3 separate regions of the Homo sapiens genome follow, and regions 1 and 2 are each linked to region 3. Evidence: promoter capture Hi-C in human tissues and cell types (Jung and others, 2019). All regions are on one chromosome and are shown on one strand. The core of a region is centred on a gene start or on the middle of the fragment in contact, and the rest is flanking DNA. Distances in the headings are between cores, read along the strand shown.

What was found. Contacts are between HindIII fragments. The study calls those that stand out against the background at their distance.
Region 1: a fragment that was not itself captured here is called in contact with the fragment with the promoter of EPHX2 in region 3 in 1 of the 25 tissues and cell types used here (dorsolateral prefrontal cortex).
Region 2: a fragment that was not itself captured here is called in contact with the fragment with the promoter of EPHX2 in region 3 in 1 of the 25 tissues and cell types used here (spleen).

What each region holds. Positions count from the first base shown.
Region 1 is chr8:27,736,183-27,740,581 of GRCh38, forward strand. It overlaps CCDC25 (coiled-coil domain containing 25), which reads right to left. Exons shown (of 9, transcript NM_018246.3): 8 at 4,290-4,335; 9 at 1-63. The coding sequence ends at 34. Among named protein-coding and RNA genes, the nearest start is that of CCDC25, 34 kb to the right of the region's middle. The HindIII fragment of the contact is 4,304 bases long and covers 1-4,119 here.
Region 2 is chr8:27,620,573-27,625,150 of GRCh38, forward strand. No RefSeq gene overlaps it. Among named protein-coding and RNA genes, the nearest start is that of CLU, 8.2 kb to the left of the region's middle. The HindIII fragment of the contact is 5,581 bases long and covers 76-4,578 here.
Region 3 is chr8:27,489,678-27,493,835 of GRCh38, forward strand. It overlaps EPHX2 (epoxide hydrolase 2), which reads left to right and starts at 1,466. Exons shown (of 19, transcript NM_001979.6): 1 at 1,466-1,632. The coding sequence starts at 1,532. RefSeq lists a silencer at 1,270-1,549. The HindIII fragment of the contact is 8,102 bases long and covers 1-1,856 here.

The DNA.
Region 1 (4,399 bases), core at 718-3,217, 250 kb after region 3:
ATCTTTCAAAGGTCCTTTTCTCCTTTTCTCCTTTTACATGAATTCATCTGAATCATTGCCATCCTGTAGGAAACACAAAAATGAGAACATAAAAGCCTTGAAAATAATTCAATATTTAAAATTTACAATTATCTTAATTAGCGAGCTGCCTTCTCATCTCAGTCACTGAGTTCAGAAAGTAAAATAACTAAATTGACTCATCACTTCTCCGCCTTAAGTTGTCAGTTTCCTGACATAGCTGAATTAACAGCTATATTTTGTGAGGTGTCATTACATGGCCTGATTACACAGCAGTAAGTGACCACTGATCTCTAAATAATGCAGTAAGTCCCACCTGACCTAGTATAGTGCAAAACAAATGTGACTGTAAGAAAACATGACAGATCCTTCAACAAATGTACCAAGCAAACACTGCCTCAATGTCCTCATGCCAACAATTCTGCCAATATGCAAACTGATTCTGGCCTAAGTTCCAGTAATTTGAGCCTCAACATTGTCACAGATTTGTGACTTCACAACATGGCTTTGATCTCTTCTTCTTTTTTAATAGGAAAGGCCATCAGGAAGTCAAACATAGGCTAGTTTACCAACTTAGTTGGTTTGCCACATTTTTTAATTTAAAAAACCTGCATAATGGTATACAGCACAAAGGGACTGATTTTATTGTGTGGCTTACAAGCAAGTCCTGAAGGCCACACACAAAGGTAGAGCCCTGACTCCTTTTTGGACAACATTCACTAAGAGTGTGCATTCTGATTTGCTTGCCAATGTCACAATCTGAACACTACAGTTGTTTTATCTTTTTTCTCTTTCCCATTGCTTAACACCAGCATTGTTAGAGAAAGGGATCAGACTAAGGCTTATCTAAATGGCCCTTATTAAAGATGGTAGAGAAATACGATATGGGTAGAAAACATTGGTTCCTGTGAAGTCTGGTTTTAGCTCCAACTTCACTTAGTGGTTTTCTCTGTGGTTCTCTTCCATTAGCACGATGAACTGAAGCCAAGGTAAAAATGCCTTCGATAATTGTACAAAGAACAGACTAATGATTGTGTTATATCCAGGCGCAAAGACTATGATTGCCCCAGAGTCTTAATCTGAAATAAAAGCAGTAGCAATGTTTGAAAGAGTCATTTAGTATCTTCAAATGCCAGCTTTAGATCCCAAACACTGAGGATGAACAACTCAGTAAGACAGTCTGGGTTGTCATCAACGAAAGTAAGCCATTCCCTATAAAGGCTGTGAGTTAGATGTGCAGAGTCCCCACTTGTCTGGGGCTATGTTTTGGAATTACAGTAATTATTCTTCTTGATGAACCTGTATATGCTAAATTAAAACTTAAGTCCTATATTACATAAACACTTGCCTTTAACTTAAAAATCAACTGATCACGTTCTAAATTGGATCATAAAACATCTGTATCACTTACACTTCTTCACTGCTGGTGGGAATGTAAACTAGTACAGCCACTATGGAAAACAGCAAGGAGATTTCTTAAAGAACTGAAGTAGAACTACCATTTGATCCAGCAATCCCACTACTGGGTATCTACCCAGAGGAAAAGAAGTCATTATTCAAAAAAGATACTTGCACACACATGTTTACAGTGGCACAATTCACAATTGCAAAATTGTGGAACAAACCCAAATGCCCATCAATCAACGAGTGGATAAAGAAACTGTGGTGTGTGTATACACACACTCACACACACACACACACACACACACACACAAAGGAATACTATGCAGCTATAAAAAGGAATATATTAACAGCATTTGCAGTGACCTGGATGAGACTGGAGACTATTATTCTAAGTGAAGTAACTCAGGAATGGAAAACCAAACATTGTATGTTATCACTGATATGTGGGAGCTAAGCTATGAGGATGCAAAGGCGTAAGAATGATACGATGGACTTTGGGGACTTAGGGGGAAGAGTGGGAGGGGGGTGAGGGATAAAAGACTACAAATATGGTGCAGTGTTTACTGCTTGGGTGACGGATGCACCAAAATCTCACAAATTACCTCTAAAGAACTTACTCATGTAGCCAAATACCATCTGTACCCCAATAACTTATGGAAACAAAACAAAACAAAACAAAACACAAACATCTGTATCCCTTAACAGAAGACGGTTACAAGGAGAATTAGTCTATTCTTTTAAAGTATGGAGAAAAACTAGGAAAACATTTTCACTGAAAGAGAGAATAAAAACACCCAGTGCAAAACTTCCTTGGAATCTTGAACTTGATTCATACTTGGAGCTCAGGAACAGGGGTTGCAAGCAACAGAGGGAGAGTTAGGGTAGAAAGATTAGCAATCTTTTGGGCTACAAATTCAATTTCCTAGTCTCGGGACTTTTAACATCTGTCACTGATCAGATGGTGTTTGTATATGTATGTATGTAGGTCGGTAGGTAGGTGTGTGTGTGTGTGTGTGTGTGTATTTGTTTATTTCTCAACTCTAGAATTATATACAAGCTTTAAAAATCCAAAATGATGAGAATAAAATGACTAAGGTCATGAAATAATATGGGGGCTAGATTTCTGGTGGAAAGTGCCTCTAAAACACAGAAAACTTCAATAAGCAAAATAACCACAACAATGGCATCTGAGTTGTGGTATGTTGAAGACTACTGTTTAGTGTTAAACTGTTCCAATAGTTTCAAGAAATCTAAAATTAGCTTCCAGAAAGGATTAAACACATCTCATCTTTTCATAATGATATTCTGGAAAAACAGCAACCAAAGACTATCTGGATAAGGTATGACTATTTACAAAGTAGGTCAAGGAAGACTTTCACATCGATGTGTCTTTGCTTCAATTCTAAGCAGCCCTGTGAAATAATATGTGTCCATTTTACTGATGATGAATACTCCCTCAGAGAGGTTAAATGACTTTATTAGGATCTAACCCAACCACTGTGACAACGTTCCCTTGCCCAAGGGATGTTTAATCCCCCCCACCTCAATTAGCACATGACAGTTAAGTCTCTAAACTTCAAATTCAAAGCTCTATTTAATTTAATAATGCTATTCTGGAATTTTTCAGGAATAAATTATAAAGAAACATCTCTGATTCATAAAGGAGCCTCGTACATTTAGTTCTTCATAGAGATGGGAATAAGAATGTTGTTCTTACAAATTTTTAGAAGAATATGTAGATATAAACAAGATGTAAAATCCTATTACTTCTAATTCATGCACTAAATCTGAGGTTTGACTAGATGACTTGTAAGGGATCTTAAATTCTGTTACAGTTGGCCCTTGATTTCTTTATCTGTGAATTCAACCAACCTCAGCTCAAAAATATTTAGAGGAAAAAAACAATTAAAAAAATACAATAAAAATAATATAAATTAAAAAAATACAGTATAACAACTATTTACATAGCATTTACACTAATTAGGTATTATAAGTAATCTAGAGATAAAGTATATGGAAGGATGTGCATATGTTATATGCAAATACTACTCCATTTTACACAAGGGACTCAAGCATCCTAGGATTTTGGTAGCTTCGGGGAGTCCTGGAACCAATCCCCCATGAATACTGAAGGATGACTATATTTTTAAACTATACTATAAAACATGCAAAATCCCAAATACATCCACCCAGTTTCCATTTTCTGCAGACTGCTCAATAGCAGCTAAATTGTGCTATCTCTAGACACTTCAAGATAAATTTTGGGAAAGACAGCCCTCAAGGACAATAATTCTCTGACATAGTTCCAATCAAATAATTAGACGCAATGTTAAGAAGATCCTTTCAGTACTATGTCATAGGTCACCATCTGTTTCTATCCCAGGTCCTAAGGAACATGAAAACAAACAATTTTGTCACTTAGGCTTCACTGAGTCACATAAGATCTTAGGGTAAGTTATTTTAATTGAAGGTGATAATTTTGTTCTCATTCAATTATAATATGGACTCTACAGTCACAGTGATAAAGAACACTAATAAATAAAGGCACTTTTGCATGCCTGCAACCAGAAAAGAGGGGAAATAAAGAATAAAGTCCTGTAAATATAAAATGAATAGACCTGTACGCCACAGTAGACAAGCTCTGACAATCTCTTTCCCTGAGATGACCTACTTAACAACACAAATGAGAAAGTCCACAGGGAAGGAGGTGCAGTGCCTAAAAGAATCCAGCCTGAGTGGTGTCCTGGTTGCCAAATCATGGTTAGCTATTTGCAACATGTAAGGCAATAATGGCCAGTAACACAATTATTAAAAACCCTTAGTGAATTATTTCAAGGCAAACATTCATGCAAACCACTTGAACATACCTGATTTGAAGACATATTTTCAACTTTCATTAGTGATGAATAGCTCCTAGAAGGAAAAAAACACACACACACATTTAAAATATGGTGATCCAGTCAACAAATATTTGATG
Region 2 (4,578 bases), core at 1,616-4,115, 130 kb after region 3:
ACCTGTGATTTGAGAGGTGTCACTCCCTGTGCTCCCAAGGCACTCTCTGCTTCCTTTTGTATTATATTATACCACACTGTGCTTCTCAGATTGGCTTGAGCTGACTTCTGGGGAGGTTGTACTGTACACAGAGACAAGGAGGCCACTGGCTCTGGTATTACTCAGAGATTCAGGGGGGAAAGTTAATGTTTAGTGAGTAAACTTCCTTTTCCCTTCCCTCCCTCCCTCTGGCTCTCCCTTCCTCCATTCCTTTCTTCCCTCCTTCCTCCCTTCCCTTCTCTTCCCTTCCCTTCCTTTCTCTCTGTCTTATTTTCAATTCCTCACTAAATCTCCGGCTTCTAAAGTTAAGTGGATGTCTATTTATATACATACATATACATGTATTTATATTCAGAATATATGTGTGCGTGTGCGTGTGTGTATATATGTGTGTATGTATATATCTATCTAGATATTGATATCTACAAAATGGATTTTGCCTTTTTATCTTTTCCAAAAAATAAATTCAAAATTATATGATACATATTGCTCTGCTATCTACTCTTTTCCACTTAATAAAATATTATTGATATCTCTCTGAGCTAATGCACAGATAGATCTAACTCATACTTTTTAATAGCTATATAATATTCCATGGTGAGGCTGAACATATTTTCTTCAGCCATTCCCCTTGTCCAAGTTTTTGCTGTCACTCTGAGCAGTGCCACAATAAACAGCCTTCTGCATGCATCCTAATTTGTTAGAGCCTTTATTGCTCTATATGAGGTAGATTGTCCCACTGAGATGCCTGGATGAAAGAGAACATGTATTCCTAATGCTCATATATCTTGCCTGATGACTTTCCCCAAAAGCGTCTGTGGCTTCCACCCTGTCTGAGAATGTCCATTACCATATGATCATCGGGCTGGTGTTGATCCTTTGAATTTTTGCCAATCTTGTGGGTGAAAAATGACATTTTTACCACCTTAATCTCTTTGTATATTTTTTGTTTTCAACTATTTATTTTTAAATAAAATTTCCCCTCTGTCACTTGTCTATCCATATTGTTTGCTCATTTTATCAAGTTATTCATCTTTTTTTCTATCAATTTATAGGTGCTCTTTAAATAGAGAAAGTGACCCTTTGTGTGTTGTCAGTTTTTTTCCAACCAGATTATCATTTTTTTATCTTTGATTACCAAGGACTTTTTGAAGTTTTTATGCAAGTGATTTTTGTTTATCTTTTTCTTTATAGTTTCTAAATCTCATGTCTTGTTTCAGAATGTCTTCCTCTGGCTAGAAGACAGATAGCTATTCTAATTTTCTTCTAACTTTCTATTGTGTCAATTTCTTATTAGATAGGTAATCAAGATGGAATTGATATGTTTATGGTGTATGTGTGTATGACTGTGTGTATGCGTGTGTAAGAGAAGGATGACGTAGGATCTAATTTCATTTTCTTCCAGATGTATAGCCAATTATGTCAACACAATATATCAAATAAATCACCCTAATCACACTGAGTTGAAATACCATTTTTTCACATATAAATTTCCCCAAATAAACTTGGATCTGTATCAGGACTTTCTAGTTTATTCCTCTGATTCCTCTCTTCATGCATAATATACTGTTTTAATAACATAGCTTTAAAAAATATTATTTTATTTATTTATTTTTGAGACAGGGTCTCACTCTGTCACCCAGGCTGGAGTGCAGTGTCATGATCATGGCTCACTGCAGCTTCGACCTCCCTAGCTCAAGCAATCCTCCCATCTCAGCCTCCCAAATAGCTGAGACTATAGGTGCACGCCATCATGCCCAGTTAATTAAAAAAATATATTTTTTTAGAGACAGGATGTCAGTATGTTACCAGGCTGGTCTTGAACTGGCTCAAGAGATCCTCCCTCCTCAGGCTCCCAAAGTGCTGGGATTACAGGCATGAGCCACCACTCCCAGCCGTAACTACATAGCTTAAAAACAATATTTAATATTGAGAAAGTAATCTTCTTCACTCTTCCTTTTCAAATTTTCTTGACTTTTCTTGGACATTAATTCTTCTAGATAAACTTTAAATTAATTTTGCCCCATTGAAAAAACATGGCATTAGGCCTGGTGCATTGGCTCATGCCTGTAATCACAGCAATCTGGGAGGCTGAGGCAAGAGGATCACTTGAGATCAGGAGTTCAAGACCAGCCTGGGCAACATAGCGATAACCCCATCTCTACAAAAAATAAATTAAAAAAAATGAGCCGGGCATGGTGATGTATGCCTGTGGTCCTAGCTAGTTAAGAAGCTGAGGCAGGAGGATTTCTTGACCCCAGGAATTTAAGCCTGCAGTGAGCTATTACAGCACCACTGCACTCCAGCCTGGGCAACAGAGTGCGACACTGTCTCTAAAAAGAAAAAAATAATTAAAAGAAAAAAGAAAAAACATGGCACTGCAATTATAATTGCTTTAAATTTACATATTAGTTTTAGAAGAATTCACATTTCTATTCTTTCTTCCTGTGTAGGACAATAACATATGTCTAGAGTTAATTCAAACTATTATTTTTATTTGTAAATGCATTTTTATACAAATTAAAAATATCAGCTCCTACCCTCAATTCAGTAAAACCATTATTATTGAATATTAAAATATATATTTTTTCATTGTGGTATGGCGTGTAACTCTTATATAGTTTTAAAAAATAAAATGAAAGACTTCAAAGATATGTTTGCTACTTCTTTTCCATCATCATGGCAATGGAAAAATTAAAGAAATCCTGATTAAGCATTTTATATTGAAATTTATCAGATGATTGTTCACACCTTTTTCTGTCATTCAGCATTCAGCTCCTGTCTTAGTCTGTTTTTTGTTGCTTATAATAGAATATAGCAAACTGGGTAATAAATAAAGAATGAGAATTTATTTTTTACAATTATGGAAGAGGAGAAGTCCAAGGTTGAGGGGCTGCATCTGGTGAGGGCCTTCTTGCTGGTGGGGACTCTCTGCAGAGTCCCAAGGCAGTGCAGGGCATCACATGGTGAGGGGGCTGAGTGTGCCAGCTCAGGTTTCTCTTCCTCTTCTTATAAAGCCATCAGTCCCACTCCCATGATAACTCATTCATCCATTACCCCACTAATCCATTAATCCATGAATGGATTAATCCATTTATGAGAGCAGAGACCTCATGACCCAGTCACTTGGTAAAAGTCCCACCTCTCAACACTGCCACATTGAGGATTAAGTTTCAATGTGAATTCTGGAGGGGACAAATATTCAAACCATAGCACCTCCCATTCTTTAAGACACAGTTTAGCATGCAGTAGGTGCTTAATACATGCTTGTTAAATTACCTGAAATAACTTTTCCATTATTGCAATCTAAGATCCTATTTATTTTTGATTCATATCAAAGCTATACTATCCATGTGGATAGGAAACATATCTCTGGCTCATAGCACCTGGCTACACAATCAAAATACATTAATTTAATAAATGAACAAGAGCCATGCATGACCAAATATCAACTAGATCTTCTTCTCTGAATTACTAAGCTTCATCCTTTAGTGAAAATGATGTGACACTAAATGTGGGGTTTTAATTTATCTCTCTTGAATTTTATCTTATCAGTGCACTATAGCTCTCTGTCAGGATTGCTCTGAATTTTGTTCTTCCAGTTTTGAGTGAGAAACAAACAGGTAAGCTGGACTTCTGGGTCTCCATCCAGAGCATGGATAGAAATGTCCATCAGCACCCTTGTTATCATGTTAAAAGCCCAACCTGCTGCAGGGCTCCCATAAGGACATTTCTGTGTACCAAATGCTTTGGAGAATACCTTCCCCAAAGCAGTCCCATCCCTCCAGCTCTGATCCTCCTATTTTAATATGTCTAATTCCTCAACACCTGAAGACAGAGATGTTTCCAGTCCTACTTGCAGTAACCTAAAATTGCAGGACTTCCTGCAGGGATCCCTTTTCATTCTCCAGTGGATCATTCAATTAAAAGAAGCTTGCCCTTCTTACATATCCTCAAGCCTCTTTCTTTTTTCATCTATATCCAGCCCCGAATGAAGTCAGCCACTTTCATGCTGAATTTATAATTGATTCAGATGAAGAACCTAGGTAGTTTTTCTTTGCTAAGATGTTATTATATTAATCTGGAAGGGTTAAGCTCTGAAATATCTTTTGTATTAAGCTACTTTTCTCAGAACTGTATCCTTACAGAGTTCATGAAATAAGGTTCATGAACCTAATTAATGAGCCTAATTAATACCTAAGGTTCATAGGTATTAACTTGACCCTATTAAGCCCTCTTTGAAGATTTATCAGGCTACAAGAGGCCATGTTATATAGCATCACCCACTGGTTTAAGAGTGGTATTGCAATACACCTCTTGGCCATTATAATACTCAAAAATTCCAGTATTGGTAAATGTACAGTGAGGCAAGAATCCATAGACATGGGAGATACCATAGGGGAAGTTCTGGGAGGAAGTAAAAAAAGAAAGGAGACTCTTGAATTGTGAAAATATCACATAGTTCAGAGAATGGCCTTTAAAAAATCAATTTAACACTTATCCGGAGAAGTCTTCAATTGAGTATGTTGAAGGACTTTT
Region 3 (4,158 bases), core at 216-2,715:
ATAGGTCAGGCTGCAATTTTCTTTCTATTTTTTAAAATTCAATTATACCTTTGAGATCAACTAACTTCATGAGAAACTAGCTTGCTGTACTCCCTTCTCTGCCTATCTTTCAGTCTTCAAATCCAGAGTAATCCAGTTTCTACCATAAAGGGCCCACAAAAAGTGTTCTGAAACATCCGGTGTCATCCAAGTCCAAAATTGGACAGCTTTTTTTTCAGTTCTTCCTGTAACATTTGGCAGTGTTGGCCACTCTCTGCTTCTTTGGCAAGAATCTCAGAAAACACTAATAACTGCTCCAGGCAGGAGCCTGGAAGAGGTTACCAAGCTAGAGAAGGAAGCAACAGCATAGCTTGCTAAGGGCAAACAGCCCAGAGGAAACCCACGGCTCTGGTCAATCCTGTTGTTGATTGCTAGATCCAGAGACTGTTGTAGACCTCCCAGTTACAGTGAGGTATCTGACAACCCCTCACAAGGTTCTTGAAGCTCCGTGGTGGAGGGTATCTTGGATAAATCCACAGAGACACATTCAAGAGTAAATTCTCCACTGTTGGAGACCTCACTCACTCTGTTTGGTCTCCACCAAAGACACGGTTTTTAATTCATGGAGCTGCACTACAACAGCTCAAGAACTCCCAGCCAAAGTTTTAGTTTTTCTAGGAACATAAACGAGCCAATAGTGTGGAAATCGGTGATTAAAAACAAACCTCGCACATTTTAAGACAGAATTATTACAAGTAGCATGTACAAAAGGAAAATAATAGCCTACATTTAGTTCTTCTAAGCTTCATTCCACAAGAGATTGAAATCGAAGTATTCTGGGCTGGCACACGATAGCTGGAACATCATATTTTATTCTAGAAACACATTTGCCTTGGCAAAGAAGAGCGTGCCTAGAGGAGTGGTCAGGATAGTGAGGGATCTGTGATCCTTCGTTCTGAATCTAGAAAAGTCACTGGATATGCCCCTCCCCCGCCCCCCAACACGGTCTTATGTTCTGAATGTAGAAGTCACTGGATGTGCTGACACACACACACACACACACACACACACACACACACACACACACACACACACACAGAGTCTGTGGCCTCTTTCCCAGGCATTCCAAGTCCAGCAAGTTCGCAGGGAGCTGTCAGTCCGTCCAGGAAGGCCCGGGCCTGGGTTTGCCTCTTCAAGCAGCTACTGCAGGGGCGTGGGGAGGGGGCATAAGAGACTTTGGACTTTCCTTTGAGACAGTAGAAAGCGTTACATCCAGAGGCGAGATTCTAGCCTGGGGTCCCCGCCTTCCCGGCCTCCTCTTCCTCTCCCTCTGACTCCCTTTCCTGTGCCCCTCCCCCTGCCTCTTTCCCGGCCAGAGTCCAGCCTTAACCCGGGCAGAGGGCGGAGTCCCGTTAAGGGGGTGTGGGGAGGAGGCGGGGCCAGGGCAGGGGCGGGGCAGAGCCGGGCCAAGCTGGGCGGGTCATGCGCCCTGGCCTTCGCGCATCTCCCAGGTTAGCTGCGTGTCCGGGTGCTAGGCTGCAGACCCGCCGCCATGACGCTGCGCGCGGCCGTCTTCGACCTTGACGGGGTGCTGGCGCTGCCAGCGGTGTTCGGCGTCCTCGGCCGCACGGAGGAGGCCCTGGCGCTGCCCAGGTAAGGGGGCCCAGCGCCGCCGCCGCAGTGGGTCGGGGCCTCAGGAGGCAGACCGCGCTGGGCTTGCAGCCCAGCTTTCAGATTGCTCCTGTGCCGGAGCCCTGCGAATCATGCGAATCATGAAACTGAAGACCTGGCCCTGAAGTCCCAGTGCATATGAGGAGATCCGTTGTCTTTCTAAATGTTCATAATTAAACGTTGCCAAGGTCTCCAAAATTGCTTTCTGTGAACTTTTCCAAAAGGGAGAGGAGTTACTCATGGAGCTTTGTGCTTCTGCTGCCTCCTGTCTAATGGGGTGGCGCTTAAAGATGCGAGCCGAGATTCAGGAGAGAAGAAAGTTCTCTCCCCAGGTGTGGGTTGCATGCTTACTTGTGTAATAGCAAACTGCAGCAACCGCCCAAAGCCACATCACTGGGAAATGGTAGATGGGGTGTGCAGAGTGAGAGCTCAGGGACTTGGGAAAACACCTGTTCTACTACATGAAAAAACCACCCCACCAGAATCTGAAGCTATTTATACAATATGGTTTCAGCTATGGAAAAAAGGTACATGCAGAAAAGTGCCTGAAAGAAATAGGCCAAAGTACATCAAATGAGATTAGGAATAATGTAATGATTTTCTTTCTCTCTCTCTTTTTTTTGTGTTTTTTTTTTTTGTAGTTTCCAACTTCTAAATTTATAAACAATGTATTATTCCCACATTCAGAAAGGAGAGAAGTATACTTATTTATAAAGTGAAAAAGAAGGCCAGGCATGGAAGCCATTGTTCATATCCTCCTTTTACATATGAGGAAACTGAGGCACAGAAAGAAACCAGCTGTCCAAATCACATAGCTGTTAAAGAGCAGAGCCAGAAATCCAACCCCAGTAGTCCATGTCCGGAGCCTTTGCTTTTAATATAGTAAGGAAGATGAGATGGCAAGTAGCTTGAGGGAAAGGCATGTAATCTCTGTGCTTTGGGAAGCTAAGGTGGGAGGATCACTTGAGGCTGAGAGTTCAAGACCAGCCTGGGTGAAAGAGCAAGACCCTGTCTCTCCAAAAATAAAAATAAAATTAGCTAGACATTAGTGCATGCATGTAGCCCCAGCTACTTGGGAGGCTAAGGCAGAAGGATTGCCTGAGCCCAGGAGTTGGAGGCTATAGTTGTGTCCAGAGTTGGTTCCTGTCGGTGGGTTCGTGGTCTTGCTGACTTCAAGAATGGAGCTGTGGACCTTCGCAGTGAGTGTTACACTCGTAAAGATGGCGCAGACCCAAAGAGTGAGTGATAGCAAGGTTTATCGTGAACAGCGAAAGCACAAAGCTTCCACAGCATGGAAGGGGACCCCAGCAGGTTGCCGCTACTGGCTGGGGTGGCCAGCTTTTATTCCCTTATTGTCCTCTCCCATGTTCCATTTCTGTCCTATCAGAGTGCCCTTTTTTCAATCCTCCCCGTGATTGGCTACTTTTAGAATGCTGCTGATTGTGCGTTTTACAGAGCGCTGATTGGTGCATTTTACAATTCTCTTGTAAGACAGGAAAGTTCCCCAAGTCCCCACTCGACCTAGGAAGTCCAGCTGGCCTCACCTCTCAATCCTCCCTCATAACAGGACACCCCACCTGCTACTGGGAACTGGGTGATGACCACTCTAGCTACTTCCTGCTGGATAGGGGCAAAGAAGGGGCCCTGCCGTTGTAGTGTCCTCCAGAGGGGAACTCTCTAGGCCAGTCAAAGGGCCAGTGGGTCAGTCTAGCAGTCCTCGGTAGAAGTTGTGAGTTAAGCTCATTTGGGGTTCCATTTGTAAGACCATCTGTAGCTTGATGGCCTTGATCCTGGAGGAAACAAATTTGAGGAGGAGGTTAAAAATACAGGGACTGAAGGTGAGTAATAGCAAGATGGCTGTCACGGGACCTAGAAAGGGGAGAAGCCAAGTCACCCAACTCCAGAGGTTGGTATAAGAATTTGAAAGGTGTTGTCTGGTTTCAGAAGCCTTTTCCTGTAAATGCCAGGCAGCATCCTGTACTATCCCTGACTGGTTAGTTTAAAAACAACACTCCTCCCCTAAGAAGGTGCAAAGTCCTCCTTTCTCAGCAGTGAGGAGGTCTAGACCTTAGCGGTTTTGGAGAGTCACTGTTGCCAAATAGTCTATTTGGGATTGTAGAGTAAGGATAGATTTATTTATTGCAAACTGTCTGAGAAATCCTTTGAGAGTGTATGGTAGTAGGATAATGAAGTAGTTAAACTGGCTATTCTGGTTCCTGTAGCAGTGGGCATTCCTAGCCCTATAAGTAGGGGTATTAGTTGTATGGTCCTGGGCTGACAGACTTGAGCTTTGAGGGGCACTGATAGGGTCTGATTTCCTGTGGCATTGTTAGTGTTGGGACTTAGGAGAAGGTGCAGGTGCCTGTCCAGCTGGTGGGAGGCAGATATAGGTTGAAGTTCCACATAAGAAGAATATGCCTTGGCTGGGTAGAATAAACTGGTTGTGTATGTTAAAAAGGTGTGTGAGTTTGTTTTCATTTTCCCACACTCCTAGAGTACTTGCCAAGG